Linked DNA regions of Homo sapiens: all the other regions are linked to region 2. The links are contacts of gene promoters, found by promoter capture Hi-C in blood cells and fetal thymus (Javierre and others, 2016). All regions are on one chromosome and are shown on one strand. Each heading gives the region's core, a stretch centred on a gene start or on the middle of the fragment in contact. The rest is flanking DNA. Distances are from core to core; before and after follow the strand shown. Region 1 has its middle 35 kb from the start of LINC02890. Region 2 holds the start of METTL9 (methyltransferase 9, His-X-His N1(pi)-histidine). Region 3 has its middle 140 kb from the start of HS3ST2. Region 4 has its middle 19 kb from the start of LINC02890.

The links. Contacts are between HindIII fragments. The CHiCAGO score rates a contact against its expected background, and 5 or more counts as called.
Region 1: a contact is called between a fragment that was not itself captured here and the fragment with the promoter of METTL9 in region 2, in 1 of 17 cell types (M2 macrophages). The highest score is 6.8, in M2 macrophages.
Region 3: a fragment that was not itself captured here is called in contact with the fragment with the promoter of METTL9 in region 2 in 2 of 17 cell types (naive B cells and monocytes); the score reaches 6.3 in naive B cells.
Region 4: a fragment that was not itself captured here is called in contact with the fragment with the promoter of METTL9 in region 2 in 1 of 17 cell types (M2 macrophages); the score reaches 5.1 in M2 macrophages.

Annotation. Positions count from the first base shown.
Region 1 is chr16:22,647,217-22,649,939 of GRCh38, reverse strand. No RefSeq gene overlaps it. Among named protein-coding and RNA genes, the nearest start is that of LINC02890, 35 kb to the right of the region's middle. The HindIII fragment of the contact is 251 bases long and covers 1,235-1,485 here.
Region 2 is chr16:21,598,323-21,601,022 of GRCh38, reverse strand. It overlaps METTL9 (methyltransferase 9, His-X-His N1(pi)-histidine), which reads right to left and starts at 1,446. Exons shown (of 5, transcript NM_016025.5): 1 at 1,125-1,446. The coding sequence starts at 1,289. LOC101927814 (a long non-coding RNA gene) reads left to right here and starts at 1,638. Exons shown (of 3, transcript NR_110930.1): 1 at 1,638-2,367. RefSeq lists an enhancer at 167-731 and a silencer at 840-1,459. The HindIII fragment of the contact is 7,148 bases long and covers 1-2,700 here.
Region 3 is chr16:22,951,862-22,954,561 of GRCh38, reverse strand. No RefSeq gene overlaps it. Among named protein-coding and RNA genes, the nearest start is that of HS3ST2, 140 kb to the right of the region's middle. RefSeq lists an enhancer at 501-1,011. The HindIII fragment of the contact is 4,976 bases long and covers 1-2,700 here.
Region 4 is chr16:22,630,936-22,633,635 of GRCh38, reverse strand. No RefSeq gene overlaps it. Among named protein-coding and RNA genes, the nearest start is that of LINC02890, 19 kb to the right of the region's middle. The HindIII fragment of the contact is 1,649 bases long and covers 574-2,222 here.

The sequences.
Region 1 (2,723 bases), core at 111-2,610, 1.0 Mb before region 2:
ACGTTCTCATAAGTGGGAGCTAAATGATAAGAACACATGGACACATAGAGGGGAAAAACACACACTGGGGCCTTTCAGAGAGTGGAGGGTGGGAGCAGGAGAGGATCCAGAAACATAACTAATAGGTACTAGGCTTAATTCCTGGATGATTAAATAACCTACAGCAAACCCCCATGACACAAGTTTACCTATGTAGCAAACCTGCACTTGTACCCCTGAACTTAAAATAAAAGTTTAAAAAAGAAAAGAAACAGAAAAACTAGCCCTGGCACCCTCCCAACTATTTTTCCTGAAACTATCAAAAAAAAAAAAAAAAAAAAAAAAAGAGGCAGTCTTGTTTCTGGGATCACTGCAATAAAAGCAATGGGAACCTACAGGTGCCAATGCCATATTTGCTGCCATGTAGATAGAGTTTGATAAAAAAGAAAGTAGATACAGAGAAAACGAGTTAGAGTGGGGGAAGAGAAAGAGCTAATGACATCATTTGGACACCTACATACAGCCATACTTGAAGCTGGAAGGGTTTATCCATTAAATTTCTGGGTTACAAGAGCCAATGATTTTCCTTTGGGGTTTGTGCTGGGTTTCTGTCACTTGCAACCAAAATCCTCCCAACTGTGGTGAGTTTGCGTATATTGGGACCACACCCTGATTCTAGAACAAGACCTTTGCATCCATAAGAACTGGACTTTCTAAATGCTGGGTCCAGGTAATATTTGAACTGGTCTCACCATTGTTCCTGGATAGCTCTCTGATTTCCTACTATGAGGCAACCTCTAGAGGATTCTTGGCTCAATAATGCACCAAGCTCATGGGACGAGTTCACAGTGTGTACCTGTTATATTGGTCACAACAAGAATTTGAGTCTCTACAAACCTCATGGCTTACACCACTGTATATTGGCTGGACGCACTTAAATGAGGTCCAGGCCGGAACATGTACAGAAACCCAAGTTATAAATTACAAGTTACTCTGGATAATTTTGGAAAGGGGGTCCTTGAATTCACAGGTCTGCCAGAAAGCCTATGCAGGCCGGATCTCCAAAGGCTCATTTGAAAACACAGTACCTTCCTAAACAGACTTTTATCATAAGGCTTTTTGCCTTTTCTTAAACTATATACCACAGGACTATTCAATAGCGTTGTAAGGGAAAGAAGAAAGTAAATAGAACTGTGCATTAGAAGGCTTTGTAAACTCTTTAGCAGGGGGTAATAGAAGTGCTCGATGTGAAGCTTCTGTTCTGATCAGGTGGAAAGGCAAGACATTGAAATACTAAGAGTTTAAATAAACTTTGAACATACCATCAGAATATTCCAAATAGGATCATTTAGCCATAATACATAGACATCCCCAACTACAACAACAATAATAGGAAGCACTAATATTTACCGAGTACTTGTGTGCCAGCACTAAATGAAACACTTTTTGTTAATTACTTCATTATTCTTCCTCATATAACAACCCAATGAAGTCAGTACCAAAGCTTAGAAGAAACTAAAGCTTATAGAGCTTCTATAAGGCAGGATAAGCTACATGACGCTGAAGTAACAAAAACCTCAACATCTCAATGGCTTAACACAACAAAAGTTTACTTCTTGCTCATGTTGCACAAACAATGCAGGCTGGCAGAGAAGACGCCACCCATCTTGGGCTAATGGGGCTTTTGTCTGAATTGTGTTTCCATGACCACTGCAGCAGGAGGAAGAAAACATGAGAAATTGCACTCTAGTCCATATGGGCGCTTCCAAATGGAACTGACAGATATTGCTTCTTCTTGCATTTCATTGACCAAACGAGTCCCATGCCCACATTTGACTTCAAGGTGAAGAGAGGGGAGGAGTATGATCCAATTCGTGCCCAGAAGTAACAGAATTGGAAATATTTAATTAACAGCATTGAACACAACCGCAGGGCACAAGCTGGTCTGTCCTCTTCTAGAAACAGAGATGTCACAATAACCTTGGAAAATTCAGTTTATCTTTGTGCCATTGCTCCAAGTGAAAACTTTAAAGTTGAAAATCTCTTTGTTTCAATTGCCCACATCATAACAGAAATTCTCTCTCTTTTCCCTCCGGACCCCCATTTCTGTCTGTAACACCTTCCTATAGGAATTATCATCTTTTCACTTTATTATAATAGAATTTGTGGTCTCCTGGGCATAAAACTCTTTAAAGGGACACATTTGAGTCAGGGGGGTTGTGAGGTTTTTTATTTTTTCCTCCAAAGAAAGTTTAAAAACCTTCATTTTGTATTCAGGAATAAATGAGAAGTGGTGTTATTTATAATTGGCTCCCTCTAATTCAGACTAAATATAGATTAATCCTAATTGATAAGACATAAAATTTAATTAAACCTTAATAAAGAACCTGGGAAAGAGTTCTCAATAGATGATATCAATGGTAATGTTGGATGCTGCATGCTGCAGTACTTCAGATAAAACACAATTCGTAGAAGTATTTTCAGGGCTTTGTGCAAGTCAAGATATGGGTCATTATCTCAAACAGAGCATTCATTAAAATTATGGATAAATCTGAGAGATGGTGTTCTCCATACAGCTCACCGATAAGAGCCTGGCCCACAAGAACTCCCAACAATCTCCTCAGCCTGTTGGTCAGGAGGACGCTCAGTTCCTTGACCTTGAAGCCACACTGAGTCACAGAAGTTGCTGTCACAGACTACGGTGTTATCAGATAAACCCCAACCCACCGAATATCCCATTGTAG
Region 2 (2,700 bases), core at 197-2,696:
TATCTCCTTCTTAGACAATTCTCTACCCTCATTAAAACACATGAAATCAACCTGGGTGTAAATTCTCTGAACACCTGGCATAATAAAAAAGTAATGTAGGAAAATGAGAAATATATGAAAATGATGAGACACAAGATGATATAGGGAATAATTAATACTCTATGGAAAAGCAAAATGTATTATAAATGCTAGCTATGACAAGCCAACACTCTGGCAGAGTTCAAAAGCCTCTTTTCAATGAATTTAACATTAACTGCAAACTATGTTAAGGTCATATACGAAATATCTCACTTAATTCTACAGTTAACCTGTACACGTTTAAGTGGCGCAAGACTGAGCTAATGAAAAGCCTACCTACCCGGTCACAGCGTAACGCTCACGATGCATAACTAAAACTCCCTCCCGTCCCGTTCTGTTTTAAAAACCCTTCCTGTAAAACTTGCATAATCTTCCTCCTCATCACACACAATCTTTCTAGCAGGCTGACTAAATCCAAGTTTAAAGGAGATCTCTGCTAGGTAGGAGGGGAAGGTTCCGTAGGATGGGAGCGACAACCTGTCAAACCCATTTTTTAAGTGCTTAGGGAGAAATGTCACCCCAATCAGCCTGGAGAGTTCAATGGCTTGCGATGTACAGTTACATTTCTTCACGACCCTTTGTACGTTCTGGGATTCAACGAGACAACAAGAGGGGCTGGCTTTTCGTTTTGTTTCTCGGGGTAATGGATCTGGCCGGGTCTCTTCAGTCTCAGGCCTCGGTGCCAGGCGGGCGCCCCCAGCCACGCTCTGGCCCCAAAGTTCCCCAGTCCCGCTGCCGGGCGTCCGCAGTCACCGCCCGGGACCCAGGAACAATGCGGGGCTCCGGGCCGCTCACGATCGGGCCCGGGAGGCCATGCCCCGCCTGCGCTGCGGAACAAAAGGCGCTCGCGGGGCCGCGGCCGGGTGCCCGGGGCTCGCGGAGTCGACGCCCGGCGGGGAAGGCGCGGGGAAAACTTTCCAAGGGGCCGAGGCGGAGGGGCGAGGGCCGGGCCGCCCCCTCGCGGAGCCGTCCCGCACAATAGCCGGGCCCAGCGCGGGAAGGCCGGGCCGCCACGCCCCCGCCCCGGCCCCGGCCCCAGCCCGTACCTGGTGGTTCTCCTTCCTGCCGCCCGCGGCCGCCGCCGGCCCACCCGGGCCGCTAGTCATGTTCACGTACAGGGAGCGGGTGAGCGGGCTCCGCAGCGTCCACATCCTCCGCGCCAGCCACACGGACGCCAGGCTCAGGCACAGCCAGCCCGCCAGCAGTCTCATCGGGGGCCGCGGCCGCTCGCTCGGATCACCGCCGGCGCCGGGGCGAGGAGGAGGAGGCACCGCCGCCTCCGGCCACCGCCGCCACCGCCCGAGCTCGAGCCATCGCGGCCGCCTTGCCCATCCAGCCCCCTTCAGGGCAAAGGCTGGGGGTGGGGAGGAGCAGCCGGCGCGCAGCCTCGGCACCTCCCCCTTCCCTTCCGGCCGCGGAACGCCGCTGCCCCCTGCACCAGTTTCCATCCGGAGCACTTACGAGCGGCCGCGTCGCTTTCTCCCCCGGCGCCCTCCCTCCGTCCAATGAGCGGGCCGCTGGGAGGCGGGACAAAGGGAGCGCGCATCCGCCCGGAGCGCGTTCTCGTGTCCCGGCCCTGCCTTGGCCTCTAGTAAATGGCGGAGGTGGTTTTAATTTTTTTGAGGGCTGAGGAGATCACTTCCGAAGGCGGTAACTGCAGCCTCCCTGCCCCTCCAAGGTGGTGCTGGAAGGACCTCCAGTCTTTCCTCGCCTCATCCCACTCCACGGCGGGACTTTGACAGGGTTACCTCTCGACCCTCATCCCACTCCACGGCGGGACTTTGACAGGGTCGTGCAGTTAACCCCGGGGGCGCAAAGAGGGGAGTCATTCCTTTCGTGCATCCTGACACACACAGGTTCTTCCCGGAGACGAATGGTGCCAGTGATGGTTGCCCGCTCGGATGCGTAGTTTCCAGTTTACATTTAGAACCGACCTGCCAGACTCCCTCCTCTACTCTCCCCACCACCACGACCCGCCTGCCCCGTTCCCCAAGCCTGAGAAGTTGCTGGCTACGTGTTTCTATAAAGAATGAGTGAAAATTCTGCCTTTTGGGGAAGCTACCGCAGCTGGGGTACCCACAAGTAATGTTTTAGATGTATTGATGGCCCTGCCCAAGAATGAAGACCTCAAGTTAGACTCCTTGGCTGCCTTGTTTCCTTGAATTAGCACAGGGAAGTTGGACCCAACACTCTTAAGAGTGAACTCAGCTCTGGGAGCAGTGTTTAACCCGGATATTTATTTGATCATTTATAACACGAGGAGACCTAGCAACATTTCAGAACTGAAGGGTTAGTTACACTGTGTTCCTGTCTGCAGTTCTTCCTGCTATTATCCAAGCCACAATTAAGGAGTAACATTTCGTGGGAGTCCCTAACTTTAATACTTTCCTAGGTTTGTTTGGAAAGTGCTTTTAATTTAACTGCACCAGAAATAATGTAAATGTGTCTAAGTTCAAAACAAAAGAAGTAAGCCTTTTGGTTAATTCAGCGTTGCACATCAGAGATTTTCATTTATGAAACAGTGGGGTGGTGAGCCACAGATGGGGAACAAAATCATTCCTTACCCAACAGCTTTTTTTTTTTTTTTTTTTTGAAACGGAGTGGAGTCTCGCTCTGTCTCCA
Region 3 (2,700 bases), core at 17-2,516, 1.4 Mb before region 2:
AGTGCAGTGGTGCGATCTCGGCTCACTGCAACCTCTGCCTCCTGGGTTCAAGTGATTCTCCTGTGTCAGCCTCCCGAGTAGCTGGGATTACAGGCGTGCACCACCATGCCAGGCTAATTTTTTGTATTTTTAGTAGAGACAGGGTTTCACTGCATTGGCTAGGCTGGTCTCGAACTCCTGACCTCAAGTGATCCACCTGCCTTGGCCTCCCAAAGTACTGTGATTACAGGCGTCAGCCACCACGCCCAGCCCACACTGCATTTAATTGTTGTGCCTCCTTGGTTTCCTCCAGGCTGTGCCATTTCTTGTCTTTCATGACCTTGACACTTTTGATGAGCACTGGTCAGTTATTTTGTAGACTGTCTCTCAATCTGGGTTTGTCTGATGTTTTCTCATGATTAAATTGTGCTTGTGCATTTTAGACAAGGATTCCACCAACATGAGGTTGTGTTCATCTCAGTGCATCCTACCAGGGGGTCGTAAAGTTCCTATGTCTTATAGTAACTTCGTTTTCTTATTTTTACATATGAGTTAAGGAGTTATAGAGATTAAGTAACTCACCTGAGGCCCATAGTTTTGAACATGGCAGAATCATGAGCCACATCGAAATGGTCTTGGGAGCAGGAAGGATTAATAGATGTTAGAAATCCAGGCTTGAAATGCAGGTAAGAGATCATGACTGCACTGTGATTTAAATTGTCATTTGCATGTAGATACCAACTAAATTAAGGCGATTCCCCCTTCCCAGGGGGGAAATCTGGAGCTCCCGGGTGGCTTATTCAGTAACATAAGTAGCATCAGCGGACCAGGTGGGCCCAGGGAGAGATGCAAGCACCTGCTTCCTCTACAGGGCCAGCTTTACTCAGCTGAGCTACCTGTGTCCACAAAGGAATGTGGTCCAGTGTGGCCAGATCCTCCAATTAATTGAAGAAGAGCATTCAGTTTGGTTTTTAAATATTGGGAACAAATTACAAACAATATGAGCAACCCTGTATGGGCCAAACAAAACACATCTTTTTTGCTGGATGTGGCTTACATGTCACCTCTGGGCAAGGAGAGCAGAAAGCTGAGAAGCACTTTGGGGTAAAGGAGGAGGAAGAGAGGCCAGCCTCCAAGACCCAGAAGTCTTGATGCAAAGATGGACATAGCAAGACAGGGTAGCACCACAAAGGCCAGTAGGGGAGGGTAGGAGAAGGCAGATGTGTCCACATTCAGGATTGTGGCAGCAAGGTGGAGAACAATATTGCAGAGATTGCCAGGAGCCCAATCATTCCTTCTTAGCCACGAAATTTGCTTTGGTCAATTAAATGTAAGCAGAAATGACTTGTGTCACTTCTAAGCAGAACCATTAAAAGCTAGTACACAGTTAAGAACCTCTTCGTCGTATTCTTTTTTTTTTTTATTTTTTTTGAGATGGAGTCTCGCTTTGTCACCCAGGCTGGAGTGCAGTGGCTTGATCTCAGCTCACTGCAGCCTCTGCTTCCCAGGTTCAAGTGATTCTCCTGCCTCAGCCTCCCTAGTAGCTGGGACTACAGGCACGCACCACCATGCCTGGCTAATTTTTTTGTATTTTTAGTAGAGATGCGGTTTCACTATGTTGGCCAAGCTGGTCTTGAACTCCTGACCTTGTGATCCTCCCGCCTCAGCCTCCCAAAGTGCTGGGATTACAGGCGTAAGGCACCACGCTCGGCCTCTCTTAGTAATATTTTAAGTAGAGGATGTGCTATCAACCAGAGTCCCAGAATTAAGATAACATGGAGCAGTTATCAACCTGTGCTGGAAATGTGAAATGAACAAGAAATAACCTTCGCTGTGTCAAGCCACTAAGATTTGAGATTGTTCCTGCAGCAGGACTTAACCCATTCTGATTGACACTAGCTCATTTATCTGCAGCCAGTCACTTGGTTTCCTGGTCTTATAAATGAAAGGATATTTTCTTCACTTTGCCTAAAGGAATTTCAAACAATTTTTTACTTCTGTGAAACATTTTTCCAAATTTGTACCACTTTATCTTTGTGGTGCCTTTTTTCTCTTCTGTCTGCTGAATAACCTCTCTTGAATGTGTATATTTCTTCCAATAAATATTTTCAGACCTGCAGCATTTTGTACAGGATTTACTAAATTCATCCCTTTTGATTATTTTTGTCTCCTTGATTTTTTTTTGTTTTGTACTATGCATGTCTGAGTAAACTTCATGAGCTAAACCAAGTTTGTATGTAGTCAATGTTCTCTCCTGTTTAAGAAGGCACTGGCATTTTGACAGCAAGGATGAAGACATGTGGTAGATGGGTTCAGAATTGTATTGAATTCCACTCTATTTTTCAAGATATTTAATTCATAAAGTAATTTTGGGATCACGAGACATAATGAAACATATAACATTACAACCAAATATATTTATGACTAAATTATAAAACTTTGCAGGAAAGGCCTCTAGACAAGCTGGCAAAAAGTCATTAAAGTATTTGAACATTGATTCAGTCACTAAATATTTACTGAATGCCTCAAGTATACTAGGGATACATCAAGGAATGACAGGCGGCTACTCTCATAGGATGCCCATTAGGGCAGTGGAGCAGAGTGGTTAGAGGCAGGCTTTGGAGCCAGTAGTATGACTAAGCAATTGACTTCATTGTCCCTCCCCTGAGCCTCAGTTTCCCTATCTGTAAAATGAGGATGATCAAAATTCACATGGCTGTA
Region 4 (2,700 bases), core at 149-2,648, 1.0 Mb before region 2:
ATCAACTCTACCTACAGGGGTTGGAGATGGTGCCACAGATTTTCATGGTGTAGCTTAGAGGAAGATGTTAGCTAGACAGACAAACTGTAGAAAGGGGGGTTTCCATCAAGAGTGTTCTCTTGCTGTTGCAAGAACACTTGACGACGTGCGTCCTGTTCTGGGAACCACAGGAGTTTTATCTGGCTAAAGCAGAAGGTGCCAGTGTCTGTTCTATTTTGGCTCCTTTAAAAATCCACCCAAGGCCAGCTGTTGTGGCTCATGCCTGTAATCCCAACACTTTGGGAGGCCGAGGTGAGAGGATCGCTTGAGGCCAGGAGTTTAGGACCAGCCTGGGCAACATAGCAAGACATCCCCATCTCTACAAAACATAAAAAATTAGCTAAGCATGGTGAGGTGTGCCTGTAGGCCCAGCTACAGGGAGGCTGAGGCAAGAGAATCCCTTAAGCCCAGGAATTCAAGGCTACAATGAGCTACGATCTCACGTCACTGCACTCCAGCATGAGTGACAAAGTGAGATCCTGTCTCTAAATAAATAAATAATTTTTTAAATTAAATAAGTATAAATAAAAAGCTTTTAAAAATAAAATCCACCCAGGTGGACATGTAAACTGCACAACCCCTTTGAAAGGCAGCATGGCTATGTCTATTGAAATTTAAAATGTGCCTGTCTCTGTAATAATTACGGAGGCAATGGATTCAGGTCCTCATGGCCCAGTTAGTTTTTCTCTGTCTCACAAGCATAATTATACATTTCCTCCACAAAATGTGCGATCACGAGGGAAAAAAAAAATCTTGGATGGGTTAACAGAGGTTCATATTCATTATGGAAATACATTACGATTGTGTTTTCTTTCCAAGGTCTGTTGTCCTAACAAGATCTTAAGCATTGTGAGAAGAAAGGCTGTGCCTGTTCTGTGAATCCTGTTATCAGCAGTGCCTAAGATAATGCCACCACACAAGACCTTAGCAAATATTTAGTACAGACATACATACTTGGATAACTAAATGAATGAATAAAACATCTCAAAGCCTAAATCTACAAAAATTTTAAAAAATAATAAAATGCTTATGTCTTGTTTGTAGTAGCAAAAGATCAGGGAAAAGTGATCTATAAGAGACTAGTTAAAAAAATTATAGCACATCTATGTAAAGAAATACTATGTAAATTAAATACTATGTAAAAAGGCATGAGTTAGCCGGGTGCTGTGGCTCACACCTGTAATCCCAGCACTTTGGGAGGCCAAGGCAGGTGGATCACTTGAGGTCAGGAGTTCAAGACCAGCCTGGCCAACATGGTGAAACCCCATCTCTACTAAAAGTACAAAAATTAGCCAGGCGTGGTGGCACGTGCCTGTAATCCCAGCCACTCAGGAGGCTGAGGCAATAGAATCACTTGAACCCAGGAGGCAGAGGTTGCAGTGAGCTGAGATTGTGCCACTGCACTCCAGCCTGGGCCACAGAGCAAGACTCTGTCTCCAAAAAAAAAAAAAAAAAATAGCATGAGTATACACTCTCTATAGTTATAGAAGATTTATGGTTATGGGAAGAGCTCCAAGATATATTATCAAGTGAAAAAAAGTGAAATAAAGAAGAATATATATATATATATATATATATATATATATATAGTATGGTATCTTTTGTGTAAGAAAGAAGAGAAAATAGGAATACATGTTCTTCTTTGCTTTGTTTTCATAAAGGAACTGTGGAGGTATACACAACAAATTAATATCTACAGGGGTGAGAGAAGGGAAAATAGATTAGGAAAAAGATGGGGGAAAGACTTTGTGACATATATCTTGCATATCATTTTTTATTTTTGAATTAACTAAATGTGTGACCTATTCAAAAAGGAGAACTTAATTTTAACATGGGCCTGCCTCATGGCCCAGAAATTTCAGTCTTGGTATCAACCATAGAGAATCACTCACACATGTGCATAAGGAGGTATATAGAAGGATATTTGTTGTAGTACTGCTTATTATAGAGGAAAACACAGTAGAAATAACCAAAATGTCCATTAGTGGAGTTACAGAATAAACTGTGGCACGTTCATACTTTGAATATTATGCAGGAGTTAAAACCACGAGGTAGATGTATGTCTACTAACATGGACAAATCTCCAAGATTTACTATTGCGTAAGAAAAATCGAGAATGGTGATTGTCAGGGGCAAGGGGAGGGGAAAGCGATGGGCAGATGTAGGTCAAAGGGTACAAAGCTTCAGTTAGGAATAAGTTCAGGAGATCCATTGCATAGCATGGTGACTATAGTTAATAATAACGTATTGTAAGCAAGGTGTAGTGACTCACGGCTGTAATCCTAGCCCTTTAGGAGGCCGAGGTGGGCAGATAGCTTGAGTTCAGGAGTTCGAGAGCAGCCTGGCCAACATGGTGAAACCTCATCTCTACAAAAAATACAAAACTTAGCCTGGTATAGTGGCGTGCGCCTGTAATCCCAGCTACTTGGGAGGCTGAGACATGAGAATCACTTGAACTGGGGAGGGGGAGGTTGCAGTGAGCTGAGATGGTACCACTGCACTCCAGCCTGGGCAACAGAGCAAGACTCTGTCCAAAGTAATAATAATAATAATTAATAATAATAATAATAATAATGTATTGTATACTTGAAAATTGCTAAGAGTAGATTTTTTTTTTTGAGACAGAGTCTCACTCTGTTGCCCAGGCTGGAGTGCAGTGGT